2 separate regions of the Homo sapiens genome follow, and region 1 is linked to region 2. The links are contacts of gene promoters, found by promoter capture Hi-C in blood cells and fetal thymus (Javierre and others, 2016). All regions are on one chromosome and are shown on one strand. Each heading gives the region's core, a stretch centred on a gene start or on the middle of the fragment in contact. The rest is flanking DNA. Distances are from core to core; before and after follow the strand shown. Region 1 has its middle 7.4 kb from the start of LINC02577. Region 2 holds the start of DLD (dihydrolipoamide dehydrogenase).

Region 1 (6,817 bases), core at 3,641-6,140, 1.1 Mb after region 2:
GAGCTAAGATTGTGCCATTGCACTCCAGCCTGGGCAACAGAGCAAGATCCAGTCTCAAAACATATGTATATATGGCATGTGACTATATAATGCATAGTAACTGTTCAATAAATGTAAGCTATTGGTATTATTAGTCTCTCTGTCTCTCTCTTTTTTTTTGGCCTTATGTTTATCCCAAATAATTTGTATTTTCTTTGTTTTGGGCCTGATTTCTATATGAAGAAATAGTTTTGAATTGTCTCCTCGTGTATTAGCTCTGTCTCCCTAATTTTTAAATTGAAATATTCATAAACATGCATTCTGTGGTTTTCATGTTTTTGACAAAAATATTGAACAGAAATGAGCAAATCATAAATTCTTGGAGTTTGCCTTTTAAGGTGGAAGTCAAGTCTTTGGCCAATATTCTTTGGGTGACATTGAATGCCTAACTATGCAGCAAACCACCAGTCATCTTGCTGTTACCTGGGCCCTCATTCCTCCATCTTAACAACAAAAGGTGTGCATCACGATATTTGGCAAATGCTATGCTAAAACCAAGGCATACCATGTGCATGCCTTCCTCCTGACACACAGGCAACCAAATCTAAGAAAAGAAGTGAGACTGGTTGGCATGACTTGTTCTTAGTGAATTCACACTGGTTAGTATTTGTTTACTGTATCTTGCCTACAAATCATCCATTTTAGAATTTTGTTTGGCGTCTGCATGAGGCTCATCAGTTTACATACAGATCTCATTCTTTCACTATTTTTAGAAGTAGAAACATTTTCCAGCCATTAGTCACCTTTTCCATTCTCCTTGATTCTCAGGAGCAGTTCTCTGATCTCATCTGCAAACTCTTTTGATACTTTGGGATAGAATTTGTATTAACAGAAGTTTTGAAGTCATTCAGAGTAAGTGAAGATTTCTCTTACTATCTCTTTTTCTATTGTAGGTTTTAATTCTCTCTTCATAATGTTTGCTTCAAAATTGATGTTCATCTCTCTTAGAATATGGAAGGAAGCAGAAAATTGAATGGTTCTTTGATTATGTTATCATTTGTTAAGGTTATATTGTAATTTTTTTTTTTTTTTTTGAGACAAGGTCTTGCTCTGTGGCCCAGGCTGGAGTGCAGTGGAGTGAACATGGCTAGTGAGGGTTTACTTTCTGGGCTCAAGTGATCCTCCCACCTCAGCCCCGAGTAGCTGGGAACACAGGCGTGTGCTACCACACCTGGCTAATTTTTTACAAAGTTTTGTAGAGATGGAGTCTCACTTTGTTGCCCAGGCTGGTGGGCAAGAGGTCCTCCTGGGCTCAAGTGATCCTCCTGCCTTGGCCTCCCAAAGCATTAGGATTACAGGTGTCAGCCACCATGCTTGGCCTAAGGTGATATTGTCTGAGATACAGCATAGGTTTTTCTTCCCAGATCTTTTCTTGGCTACGGAGATTAAAAAGAAAAACAGCTTTCTTGCTGTCTTTAGTATTTATCTCCGCCCCTACTTTATTTTAAGACTTTATTCTCATAATACTCTAAACAAATTTTCCCTTTCTTTTATCGCATGCTTGGGTCTGTCCACCCCATCCGTCCTCTGAGCCATAGGAACCTCGAGTCTTACTACTCCAGATCTAACCCTCCTTTTACCTCCTCTCTGAGAACTGTGTGCTCCTAGACTATTATTCTATTCTTGCTGTTTATGTTTTCAGCACAAGCTTGTTTATGGTCAATTATCTGAGATTATTTCTATTATATTTTCTTTCCAGACAGCATATCTTTCCTCCTAAACAGGATCATTTTTGTAATGCTCAAGTAATCCTGTTTTCAGAGTCTACATTCCTCTTCTAAACATATTCCCTTGGGCACTATTATTTTCCTTACTTTTTATGAAGCCCCCTTTCTGAAGGTCTGACCATTACCTTTTTCACTATTATAAACATCAAGGCCATTTTATTCCAAGGTTTGCTTGTTTCTGCATTTGACACCTCCTTCTTTCTTGTTGGAATCCAGGACAAAAATTTCCTAAATGTATTCCTTTACCTGCTGAGGGAAAATTGTCAGTAACCCAAACCAAGAACAAACTCTCCGTCTGCTGTGCGCTGGGTTGAATGTGTGCCTTTCCCCAGCTTATGTTCACCTGGAGCCTGTGAATATGACCTTATTTGAAAATACAGTCTTTGCAGATGTAATCAAGTTAAGACGAGGTCATACTGGATTAGAATGGGCCCTAAATTCAATATAACTGGATCCTTATAAAAAGAGGAGCATTGGGACACAGGGACACAGACAGGGAGAAGATCGTAGGTGGAGACTGCAGTGATGCATCTAGAAGCCAGGGAGCACCAAGGGTGGCAAGCAACTGCTAGAGGCTAGGAAGAGGCAAGGAAGGTTCCCTAGAGGCGTCAGAGGAAAACATCAACCTGCCAGCACCTTAGTTGCAGACTACTAGCTGCCAACACTGAGATAATAATTTTTTGTTGTTTTAAGCCACCTAGTTTGTGGTGATTTGTTATGGCAGCATCAGGTAACCAATACATGTGGTTAATAGCAGGATACCACTAACTGGTTCCAGGTGGCCAATTCTGTAGCAGTTTTGCTACATGTATCAGAAGATAGCATGGCTATGTGGCAAGAATATAGACTTTAGGCTTAAAGACCCATGCTCGAGTCTTAGACCTACCACCGATGAGTTGGGCGATCTGCAGCTGCTAAAAGAAAAATTTTGGACAAACTAAATTTAACAGAGTTTAATTGAGCAAAGAATGTTTCATGAACTGGGCAATCCCCAAACCAGAATAGATTCAGACAGACTCACGTGAAAAGGATTTATGAACAGAAAAATGAAAGTGAAACAGAAGTGAGGAATAGGAACAGCTGGATTGTTACAGCTTGATGTTTGTCTTATTTGAACGTGGTTTAAACAGTTGGCCATCTGCAATTGGCTGAAGCTCAGTGATGGGTACAAGAGCAAGTTACAGTCTGTTGATACATCCAGTTAGGTTACAGTTCACTATGTGCAGAGAAACCTTTAGCCTCAACTTAAAAATATGTAAGGAGGCAGCTTTAGGCTAAACTTAATTTAACAGGGCATGGTCAATTAATCACTTATAACTTCCATAAAATAATGATAATGTATTATTCATCTGATAAGTCTTCTCTGAGATTGAAGAAAATGTGAGAAAGCACATTTTAAGTTATAAAGCCCCAACAAAGGCTATTGTATTGAGCACCCTTGACATAAGTAACTCCATCTTAAAAAAAAGACTCCATCTTACATTTCACGGGACATTTTGCCAACAGGGATACGATGTTTGCTTAATAAATTTGTAATAAATAAAGACTGCATCCAACCAGATAAGGGCATAAACAAGCACACACTTCCACTATCAGTCCTCTGGTGGTCGTAAAAAGAGCAGGGCTTCAGCAGCTCAAAGCGGCCATCTTAACTGACATGCTCTTACTGTCACTAGTGATCAACACCTGGCATCTGCTGCTGAAGGCTCTGCCCACATCAAAGACTTTTCCTTTCAAGACCTTTCCTGGACCGCCGAGCACAGACCAGGAGATTCTTTCTGTCTTCATCGTCACTTTCCTCGGACTACTTCATTAATCCTTTTTCCTATTCCCTTTCTCTTGATGTTAAATATTACTTTGGTGTGGAATGTTTAATCTTAACATTTATATGTTGATGAAATATACTACTATATATGGTTTGCAATGTTGACTGACTTGTGGAGTGGCTTGAGCTGTGTGCTCTGACTACGGAGTGAACGAGAAGTACTAAGGAGAGAGTTGCCTTCTTGAGAACTCCATGTAGCTTGTGGCTTTTGTGGTTAAAATAGCATCAGTAAAAATCTGACATTGTGGAGACACAAACATGCATGGACCTGGTTATCTCTGACTTTGCCCTGCTCATGAGAGCTATCTAGGATTGTTTTACCCAATTTCCTTCATGTGCTGGGTATCTGTATTACAGTCCTTCAAAGATACTACTTCCATCTCTTTCCGGGTTTATCCCCTTTTAAATACTTCTACTCTCAGATTTTAAATTTCCATTGGAATATATATATTCTTGACATACAATTTTCCTATCCTATCCTTTCGAGGAAACGTTTTCCTTTTGAACAAGGTATGCATGCTCTTTTAATGTTGTATTCCAGGTATGCATCTCATCAGTAAGTCTCAATGATCCTGAGACAGTGTTTACCAATCCTTATCTAAAAATCTTCAAAGTATGGATACGGTGTGCATGTGACATATACACATTTGAGTCCTAGAGTTTTTTTAGGTCTACTTCTATGACATCATCTCTGGAGAATTATAAGGTTTCTCTTCTGTGGGATCCTTGCAGTCTTTCATTGTGTCTGGTTTTGAGTAGTTTATGTCTGATTTATCTTTTCCTGAGATTTGATCTCTTCTTCACTCTTGTGCTGGGTACGTCTTTTTGCCCCACCCCCTCTCTCTGCCCCTGGCACCCAGTGGATTTGAAATAAGCTTCTTCAGATTTTCTTCTGGCTGACTTTTCATTATTTGCTTCATGCAATTTTGTTGTCAGGCAGACATTACTCTGAGTTAGAATATTATTGTATAGTTTTTAAAAAACTTTTTAAAAAAGCTCCCCCTTTTTTCTCATAGCCTAAAAATAAAGTAGATTTAAGAAGGAATCCCCCCTGCCCCAATATCTGAGAGGCCGTCATGTGGAAAAGGGATTAGACTTACTCTACATAGACTCATGTGTGGAGATTACAGAGGCAGTGTGATCCTAATAAAATAATAAAACTTTTCTAATGATCAGAGCTGTCCAAAAACAGAATGGCATGCCTTGTGAGGCAGACAGCTCTATTTCTGGAAATGTTCAAGGCAAGTGCCTTAGGTCAGGTTCTCTAGTAGGAGAGCCTGAAATGGAGTGACTCATTAAGGGAGTGGGTTCAGGAGAAGCCAGTAGAGGAGTAAGCTGAGCAGGGGACGGGAGGGGAGGAAGCTGGGCAAAGATGCGTGTACGCTAAAGTCTGACCCCAACCTGATCCTGCGGGAGTTCTGGGGCATGAATGGTATCACAGAATTGTCCTTCCTTGGGTCTTTTGTGCTTCTTCATCAGTCAGTCATTGCCTGTGTGCTGCCTATGGAGGGTGTGTGTGTTGGGTAGGGAGGCATACGCCTTACAGGCATTTCTAGGCAAGACAGCTCTGCTGAAGGCTATTCTTAGGTTAGGGGTACAGCTGTGAGTTGCCAACAGCCAACATTCACACAGCTGGGGAATGCAGGCATTTACCAGATAAACAGGACCTGAGTAGGACCCCAATAACACCTACTGCAAAGAGGAACAATTATGCAGAAGCTTTACTTTTTTTTTTTTTTTTTTTAAAGATAGGGTCTTCCTCTGTCACCCAGACTGGAGTGCAGTGGTGCAATCATAGCTCAGTGCAGACTTGATCTCTCAGGCTCAAGTGATCCTCCCACCTCAGCCTCCTGAGTAACTAGGACCATAGGCACACTACCATGACCAGCAATTTTTTTTTTTCATTTTTTTTGGTAGGGATAAGGTCTCCCTATGTTACTCAAGCTGATCTTGAACTCCGGTGCTCAAGTAATCCTCCCACCTCAGCCTCCCAAAATGCTGGGATTAAAGGTGTGAGCTACCACACCCGGCCCACATTGCCTTTCTTTATACCATTCAATGTGAGATAGTGATACCAATGGTGAGAATATAGATTTTGGTCTTGCTGAGGGCTTGTGTCTTAGTCTGTTTTCTGCTGGGTAATTTATAAAGAAAATAAATTTATTTGGCTCATAGTTCTGGAGATTGAGAAGTCAAGAGCATGGCACTGGCATCTAGTGAGGGTCTTCATGCTGCATCATCCCCTGGTGGAAGGCGGAAGAGCAAGTGAGTGTGCAAAGGGGGCTGAACTCTTGCAATAACTGTAACCTACTCTTGTGATAATGGTGTTAATCTATTCATGAGGATGGAACCCTCATGGCCTAATCACTTCTTAAAGGCCTCACATCTTAATAGTGTTGCAATGGCAATGAATTTTCAATATGAGTTTTGAAGGGGACAACATACAAACCATAGCAGCTTGATGGAGTTGTGTTGGGAGACAATTCTTCAAGGGTCCCTTACATTTCTGCACATTTTGTGAACAGAGGCACAAACTGCTTTTGTATTGATTATCTTTTTAAGAACCTTTGCATTACGAACTGCCTTGGAAGATGGCATCTTCCTATGGAGCAGAGGACAGATTATTTACTGTCCAATATGATAAAGATAATGTCTGTTTGGGAGCAAAGTTTGGGAAGGTTTTCTTGCAGCCCATTATAAATGATTGAGGTTCCTTAAACTTGGGTTTTCTTTAGCTGTGATGTAAGTCCATGTGTGTGGAGCATCCATGCAGTTGCTTTGTGGAATTTGGTGGGTGTGTCGGGGGAAGGGGAACTAATATGAACGTGTAGCTCCTGCTCCTTTCTGTGCTCTGGGTGATAAAGTCCTTTGTCTCTGAGCCAGAAGTCTGGTGCCTTCTGTCAGCATTCATGCAACAGTAATAGGCTAATATGTTAATTTGCCAAGTAGAATATAATCTCAGACTCTTTATAGTTCTTGACAAGTTGACCATTTACTATTGAGGAATCATACTTCCCACGATGATTGGTTTATGATCACAGAAGAAAATATGTTCTTGTTTTCCAGAAAAATAAAGTAAGGAACTTTGATCCCTTTGACCATAGGCCAGCATTTATTATTAAAGTGTTTTTAAACCCCTGCTATTTGGGGATGTCATGACTAATGACTGGAAGCAGATTAACATGGAGAGTGGCCAGTCTTGGCATTTATAGGGGCTTTTCTTTTG
Region 2 (6,860 bases), core at 3,517-6,016:
GCATTTCACATTACAAACACTACTTTAGGCTCTTGGAGGGGTGTGTCTGCACATGCTGTGTCTGTGTGTGTGTATATATAAATGACATAGCCCTATTTCTTACAGTCTAAATAAAAAAAAGAATTACAGTAAAAGGTCCAACCTGTAACGAGAGTTACTCTCAACCTTTTTAGCTATCAACATAATTCCTTAGGAAAGAATTATGTGACCATTCCCAATCCATATATAGATGTCATTACTCCCTATGCTTAAGTCTATGGACCCCTGTCACAATTATATGTTGGATGTTTGTCTCCCTCAACTGAATTGTAAGCTCTATAAAAGCTGGGTCTTGTCCGTCTTGCTCACTGCGGTACTCCAGTAGTTAGCCCAATGACTAACACATAGTAGATATTAGTATTTGTCGAAATAATAAAAGAATGAATGAATGTAGTGAATGTGAGTGATATAAGTGCTGTAAGTTTAAGTGTTACAAGTTTGATTAAGTGCTGTCATGAAATAAAACGTCACATCAACAGTAACACACACAACTTTGCAAATTCTGATGAACCTGGTTCATAAGGCTATTCAGACATCTCTCAGATGTTGTAACCAAGACTATATCATAATAAGATTTGAACTCCTCAGGAGAGTCAATCAATACTCATGTAAGGAAGAAAACTCAATAAAACATTAACAGTGTAGGCTCTGAAGTCAAAAGGATTCTCCCAGCTCTGTCATTTCCTAGTTAAAAAACCTAACTCTTCCATCTATAAAATGGGGAGAACAGCAGCACACAGGTAGTAGAAAGGCCATGAGGATTAAATCTGTGCCTGAGACAGAGTGAAGCCCTCAATGCATCAGTTAATATTATTGCTGTTGTAGCTGGTTACTTACTTTGTACAAGACACCATACTGGATGCTTTGCCACAGAGCAGTAATTAAAACAGACCAGGCCCCAGTGTTCATTCATTCAATAAATATGTACTGATTACCTACTGTATCACTTTAGATACTAAACAAAACAGTCACACACAGTCCCTGTCCTGATGAAGTTTGCATTCCTGAGGAAAAGACAGTAAGCATGTACCTCAGATAAAATACAAGTATGTGTGTAAAATGCTTGTTACTGCATCCACTCAAAGCTTTTACACACTTTACACACATGGGTACTAAGTGATTTATGATTTACTCAATGTCAAGGGATCACCAAACTGATTATGGAACACTCAGCCTCATTCCACTAAAATCTAAGTTCTGGCTCAGGGTCTGCCTGGCAAATAGAAGGCACTGAATAATCTCTGCTGAGTGATGCCAAAGGTATAGAGTTAGCCATGAAAAATATCCTTTAGAAATGAAAATCTAACATTTCTCCTGTTATATGAGTTGAGAAGAATGAGATTCCTATTTAACAAGAGACAAAGTGTATAAGAGGTCCAACTTTTCCCTTCATCATCATATTAGCATTTTTTTAAAAGGATTTCTTGACCTGTTCAAAGCTAGAATAAATCACTCACTCACTGTTAGTCATGGGTTACTAGAATCCTCCCCCTACCCTTCCTCTAGAAATAAAATATCCAAAATGATAATGGTTGGATAACAGTTGAGGATACAGGATTAAATTACTTCACAGAATGCAGGGAGACTGATAGTCACAGTTTGCCCAGATAATGATTTCTATAACTGAAGCTTTAAGACATCCAATGTTACTTATAATCCATATGGGTGAATTCAGTAAATGTCAAAACAGTACATTGCAAATAATCAATATCCTTGGTACTGACAGGTCAAAATACTTCAATATAATCCTATTAACTTTCTGTTTTAAATACTTAAAAAAATAAAATGCATATCCTTTATGGGAACTTCAAAAATATAAAAAAAGTACACAGGAGAAAATTCCATGACCCATAGCTTCCTTTTAGATCCTGCTAATCTTTAAAACATGCTTTTGATAAACCCATGAAGACTTTCATTCAGGATGTCAAGAAAGTCATCTCATCATTCTAAACAGTGTTAAAATAACCAATACAACCTTACTCAACGGACAAAATTAACTTTTTAAATGTAAACATATGAAATTGCTGCCCTGCTCAAAACCTTTGTTTCCCATCATACTTGGAGTATAATCCAAACTACTAGACCTGCCTTACAAGGCACTCCATGATCTGTCTCCTGCCTACCTCTCCGACTTTACATTGCATGGGTTTCTGCTCCAGTCATACCAGCCTTCTTATTACTCCTTAAACTTCACAAGCTAAGTCCCACCTCAGGCCTTTCTCAGTGTTGTTTCCCTCTGCCTGAAGTAACCTCACTCCCCCACTTCACTCAGGACCCTGCCCAGACATCATCTCCTCAGAAAGGCCTTTCCTGACACTGTATCTAAAATTATCTCTCTTCCTCCCTATTACCTGCTTTAATTTTCAGTTACTTCCCAAAATATTTATCCATTACTTATATATTGTTTGTCTTTTATCACCAAATTACAAGTTTCATAAGAGCAGGGTTTTTTTACCTTGTTCACCGCCTGGAACACACTAGCTCAATATACATTCAAACGAATAAATACATGAACAAATGAACTATAAGACACTTAACATAAGTTATTCCAATATTCACTTGCTTTTACATTGAAATAGAAAGGAACTGTCAGCTAATGTGATGAAAAAAATGTTTTACTTAAGTACTTACTCGGCTGATCTGCGTAAGTTCTCAGAGGCACTGCAGAAAGTCCCTGTAGGCCATGAGATATTCGATTGAAATGGCCTCTCTAGAAAAAGAAAATGTCCCTATTATGTAAGATATGAATTCAAAACATAGAACTACTGAAGGTTGATGATAACAGAACAATTTTGGGCAAACGTATCAAGCGAGGATTATTAGTGTATCTTCTTCCATTGCCACACAGAAGCTACAGATCAATATCCCCTCTTTGACAATAACTAATCATTTAAATTTTTCAGCCTCAGCTTGCCACACCCATCTTTTTATTATCAATAGTCAACAAATCATCTCATATTTAACTTAATTTTAAAAACGTATTCAATGGTATTTTTATTCAATTTTCAGAAAACATGGCTAATTATTAGTGCCAGGGATCATTTTAATGTCATAAAGCTCTGAGCCGGCCGTGGTGGCTCACGCCTGTAATGCCAACACTTTGGGAGGCTGAGGTGGGCGGATCACCTGAGGTCAGGAGTTCGAGACCAGCCTGGCCAACATAGTGAAGCCCCGACTCTACTAAAAATACAAGAAAATTAGCCGGGTGTAGTGGTGGGTGCCTGTAATCCCAGCTACTCGGGAGGCCAAGGCAGGAGAATCACTTGAACCCGGGAGGCGGAAGTTGCAGTCAGCTGAGATAGTGCCATTGCACTCTAGCCTGGATGTCAGAGTGAGACTCCGTCTCAAAATAAATAAATAAATAAATAAATAAATAAAGCTCTGAAAGTTCTAACTTAAATACTTGAATAATCTATACATGATAATCTTTTTACCTGTAATTTTTGTTTCCTAACTCTAAGCTAGCGTGTATATACAGTCCGTATTTACTTAGAACAATCTATGAAGATGTTCCTGAGACATCAACTAGGAATAGCAAATTAGACAAGGTAACTTAGGAAAATGCACCAAGTAATGTACTTACGTTCTGGTGCTACTACAGTTTGACAAATTGCATCATAATCTCCCTAATCTCTATATGTGGACGGCTACCATTTCCTAAGGGCAATGAGGCAGAAAGCAAGCAAGCAAATAACCCCTGCTCACAGCAGGAAAATGGGCGGCAGTGACAAAACCTACACTGATGTTTCCTATTCCAAGGCAACTCTTAACATTTGAGGTCAGGACAGCAAACCCAAAAAGCAGCAGATTGACAATCCTGAGTTTCAGTCCCACCTCCGCCGCTCCCTAAAAGCATGACTTGCAGAATGTTACATTAACTTTTGAGAACTCAGGTTCCTCATCTCTGAAACAAAAGGGTTTGATCGCTATATTATTTTTAAGGTCTCCACTAACATAGTACCCAGCCACGGTGCCACATACACACAATTTGGCTGTATCTGGTAAGCAGATTAAAAAGGAGAGTTGTTCTGATAACCTGCTGCAATTAAAGATTTAAGCCTCCAGGAAGTCGTGAGAGATGGCAATGAACACCAGTTGAAAGCTGCCAACACTGACAAGACCTTAGGGGAATTCCGAGGGCTATCTGTTGGAGCTGACTGGATCTAAACCATTCAAGAAGTGACCCCAGGGTTACCTGCCCACTGCATAAACTTAGGCCACTCAGGGATCAGAATTAGGATGAGAAAAAGGCAAATGGTATAAAAAGCCAGACTATACGGGACATGGGTGGCTTACACTTCCTCCAAGGTAGAGGCCTATGTGTGACCGGGATGGCCCTCGGCCCAGGCTTGGGGGTGTGGCATGTGTGACCGCCGGCCGTCACACAACCCGAAAGGACTCGCCACAGCCTGGGCCCAGCCCCGTCCCTCGCCTGCTGCAGGATGAGCGGCCACCTCGGAGCCCAGGGCCGGGCTGAGCCAGTGCAGAGGCGGGGCCAGGGGTGGTGCGGCCCAGGCGCCCGCCTCCGCCAGCCCAACACGGTTAAGCCGCGTACCGGACCCACTGAGCGGGACCTTCCGTGCCTCTGGCTCAACACGACCTCACCTACTCGGCCCTCACCTTGGCCAAGGAGCAGTACACACGACTCCAGCTCTGCATTTTTCCGCTGTATTTTCCTTTCCGCCAATACTTTCACCTCCGCTGGGCGCCTCCGCCGCTCCGCCAAGGTCTCCCCTCCCTGCGCATGCACAGGCGCAGCCTACGTCATCACCCGGGAGCAGCGCGATTGGCCCGCGCGGTTCTACCGCACGAGGCGTTCCTGTCAGGCTCGGCGTCGTACGCTGTCGTAAGGAGCGCAGGGCTTTGTCGCAGCGGGGGTGGTGGTGGGAATGCTTTAGGGGCTGGTGCCAAAATGTCGAGCTACAATGTATTCTTATACTTAGAAGATGAAATAAACAAATAAAACTAGCGTTTGCTTAATGCACATTATCGACAGTAAAGCGTGACAAGTTCAACAAGCTCTTGGTTGTGCTAGGCATTCCTCGGCACTTCCTACAGACATCTCATTTCATCCTTGCAACAACCATATGGAGTATTATTAGTATTTCCATTTCTTGGATGAGACCCAGAGAGGTTAAACAGTGCCCCCAAGGTCTCACAAAGGAGAGATAACTGCGGCCCTGAGGCCAAAACCTTTGGTATTATCTACTGCTTTATACTCGCTCCTCTCAAATGCCATATAAGGGATGGGGCTACAGATTTTGGCATCACCAGCATTCTGCTCTAATTAGCTAACTGACAATACGTAGAGAACACACTTTCTTCTATTTCTTTAGTTGAGAAACACATCTCCCTGGTAAAAAGAGAGTGGGATGGTGGATGAGATTTTAGGTTTTGAGAGAGAATCTGTTGAAAAGGGTTGAAAAACATTGTCTTCAAGATTGAGCACGAAAGTCTAAGGTCTCATTCTTGCCTTGCAATAAGTCTATATAGTGTGAATAAACTTAATTCTACATTTATTGGAAGTCTACCACCCAGGCCTTGTGCTGGGCTAAACACTGGTTAGAAATTACTGCCTATGTTCAGATTTAGATATGAATAATTAAATTTAGTGTTTGTTATAGAGACGGTATTGCTGGCAGCTCTGTCCTGTGACAGGGTCCCAGGCTCCTTTTATCTCGTGACTCTGCCATCATCAGAGCTTGCCTTGCATCTTTCATTCAAGATGGCTGCTCCAGTTTCTACAATCATATCCCCTCATTCCATCTGATTACAAAGCCACACCTAGCTGCAAGGGGATCTGTGAAACATAGTCCTGTCAGCTGAGTGCCTAACTGAAATTGTATTAATAAGCAAGATGAGATGAAGCGAAATTGGGGGACATTGAGCAGCCTCCACCACACAGATGGGGAGAATTGTCTCCTCTCCAGCTTCATGGCAGTCTTTGACATCTGGTCTAGGAGTTACTGCTCCATATGCACAAAATCTCACAATTCTTTCCTGAACTTTCTTGGGCTTTGTTCCCTACTCCTTTGTCCAAAATTACAATATCATATTTTTATTTTTAAAAAATGAAACACTTCCATCCTTTCCAGCTGTCATTCACAAAGCCTAGGGGCTCAACCCAGTATGAGAAGTGAGGCAGGAAATAGATTCCTTACTGCACTCACCATATTTCTCCACATTCCTCCTCATCTCTTGTACCAACTATACCTCTTCTCCTCTCAGCTAGAACAAAAGCCACAACGCATATAAATTAATGCGAACACACGGGAGGTGGAGGGAGCGATGTCAACAATGGACAGCCCACACTAGCAGTGTTTATATTCCAGCTAAGGAATATAACCAGAAATTGGACCACACTTATTTTGCTAACTTGATTTTTTTCACTTAAAACTATCTCATGAGCAACTTTCCATATTCATATTGTGTCCAGAATTGGTGGGTTCTTGGTCTCACTGACTTCAAGAATGAAGCTGCGGACCCTCGCAGTGAGTGTTACAGTTCTTAAAGGCGGCGTGTCCGGAGTTTGTTCCTTCTGACGTTTGGATGTGTTCGGACTTTCTTCCTTCTGGTGGGTTCGTGGTCTCGCTAGATCAGGAGTGAAGCTGCAGACCTTTGCGGTGAGCGTTACAGCTCTTAAGGCAGCGCGTCTGGAGTTGTTCATTCCTCCTGGTGGGTTTGTGGTCTCACTGGCTTCAGGAGTGAAGCTGCAAACCTTCGCTGTGTTACAGCTCATAAAGGCAGTGTGGACCCAAAGAGTGAGCAGCAGCAAGATTTATTGCAAAGAGTGAAAGAACAAAGCTTCCACGCTGTGGAAC

Evidence for each region. The method cuts DNA at HindIII sites, captures the fragments that hold promoters and counts their contacts. A CHiCAGO score of 5 or more calls a contact.
Region 1: a contact is called between a fragment that was not itself captured here and the fragment with the promoter of DLD in region 2, in 1 of 17 cell types (total CD4 T cells). The highest score is 5.1, in total CD4 T cells.

What each region holds. Positions count from the first base shown.
Region 1 is chr7:106,764,226-106,771,042 of GRCh38, reverse strand. No RefSeq gene overlaps it. Among named protein-coding and RNA genes, the nearest start is that of LINC02577, 7.4 kb to the left of the region's middle. The HindIII fragment of the contact is 844 bases long and covers 4,469-5,312 here.
Region 2 is chr7:107,889,089-107,895,948 of GRCh38, reverse strand. DLD (dihydrolipoamide dehydrogenase) reads right to left here and starts at 4,766. Exons shown (of 14, transcript NM_000108.5): 1 at 4,660-4,766; 2 at 2,671-2,749. The coding sequence starts at 4,698. RefSeq lists a silencer at 4,426-4,535 and enhancers at 4,596-4,835, 4,346-5,028, 4,986-5,065. The HindIII fragment of the contact is 5,175 bases long and covers 1,671-6,845 here.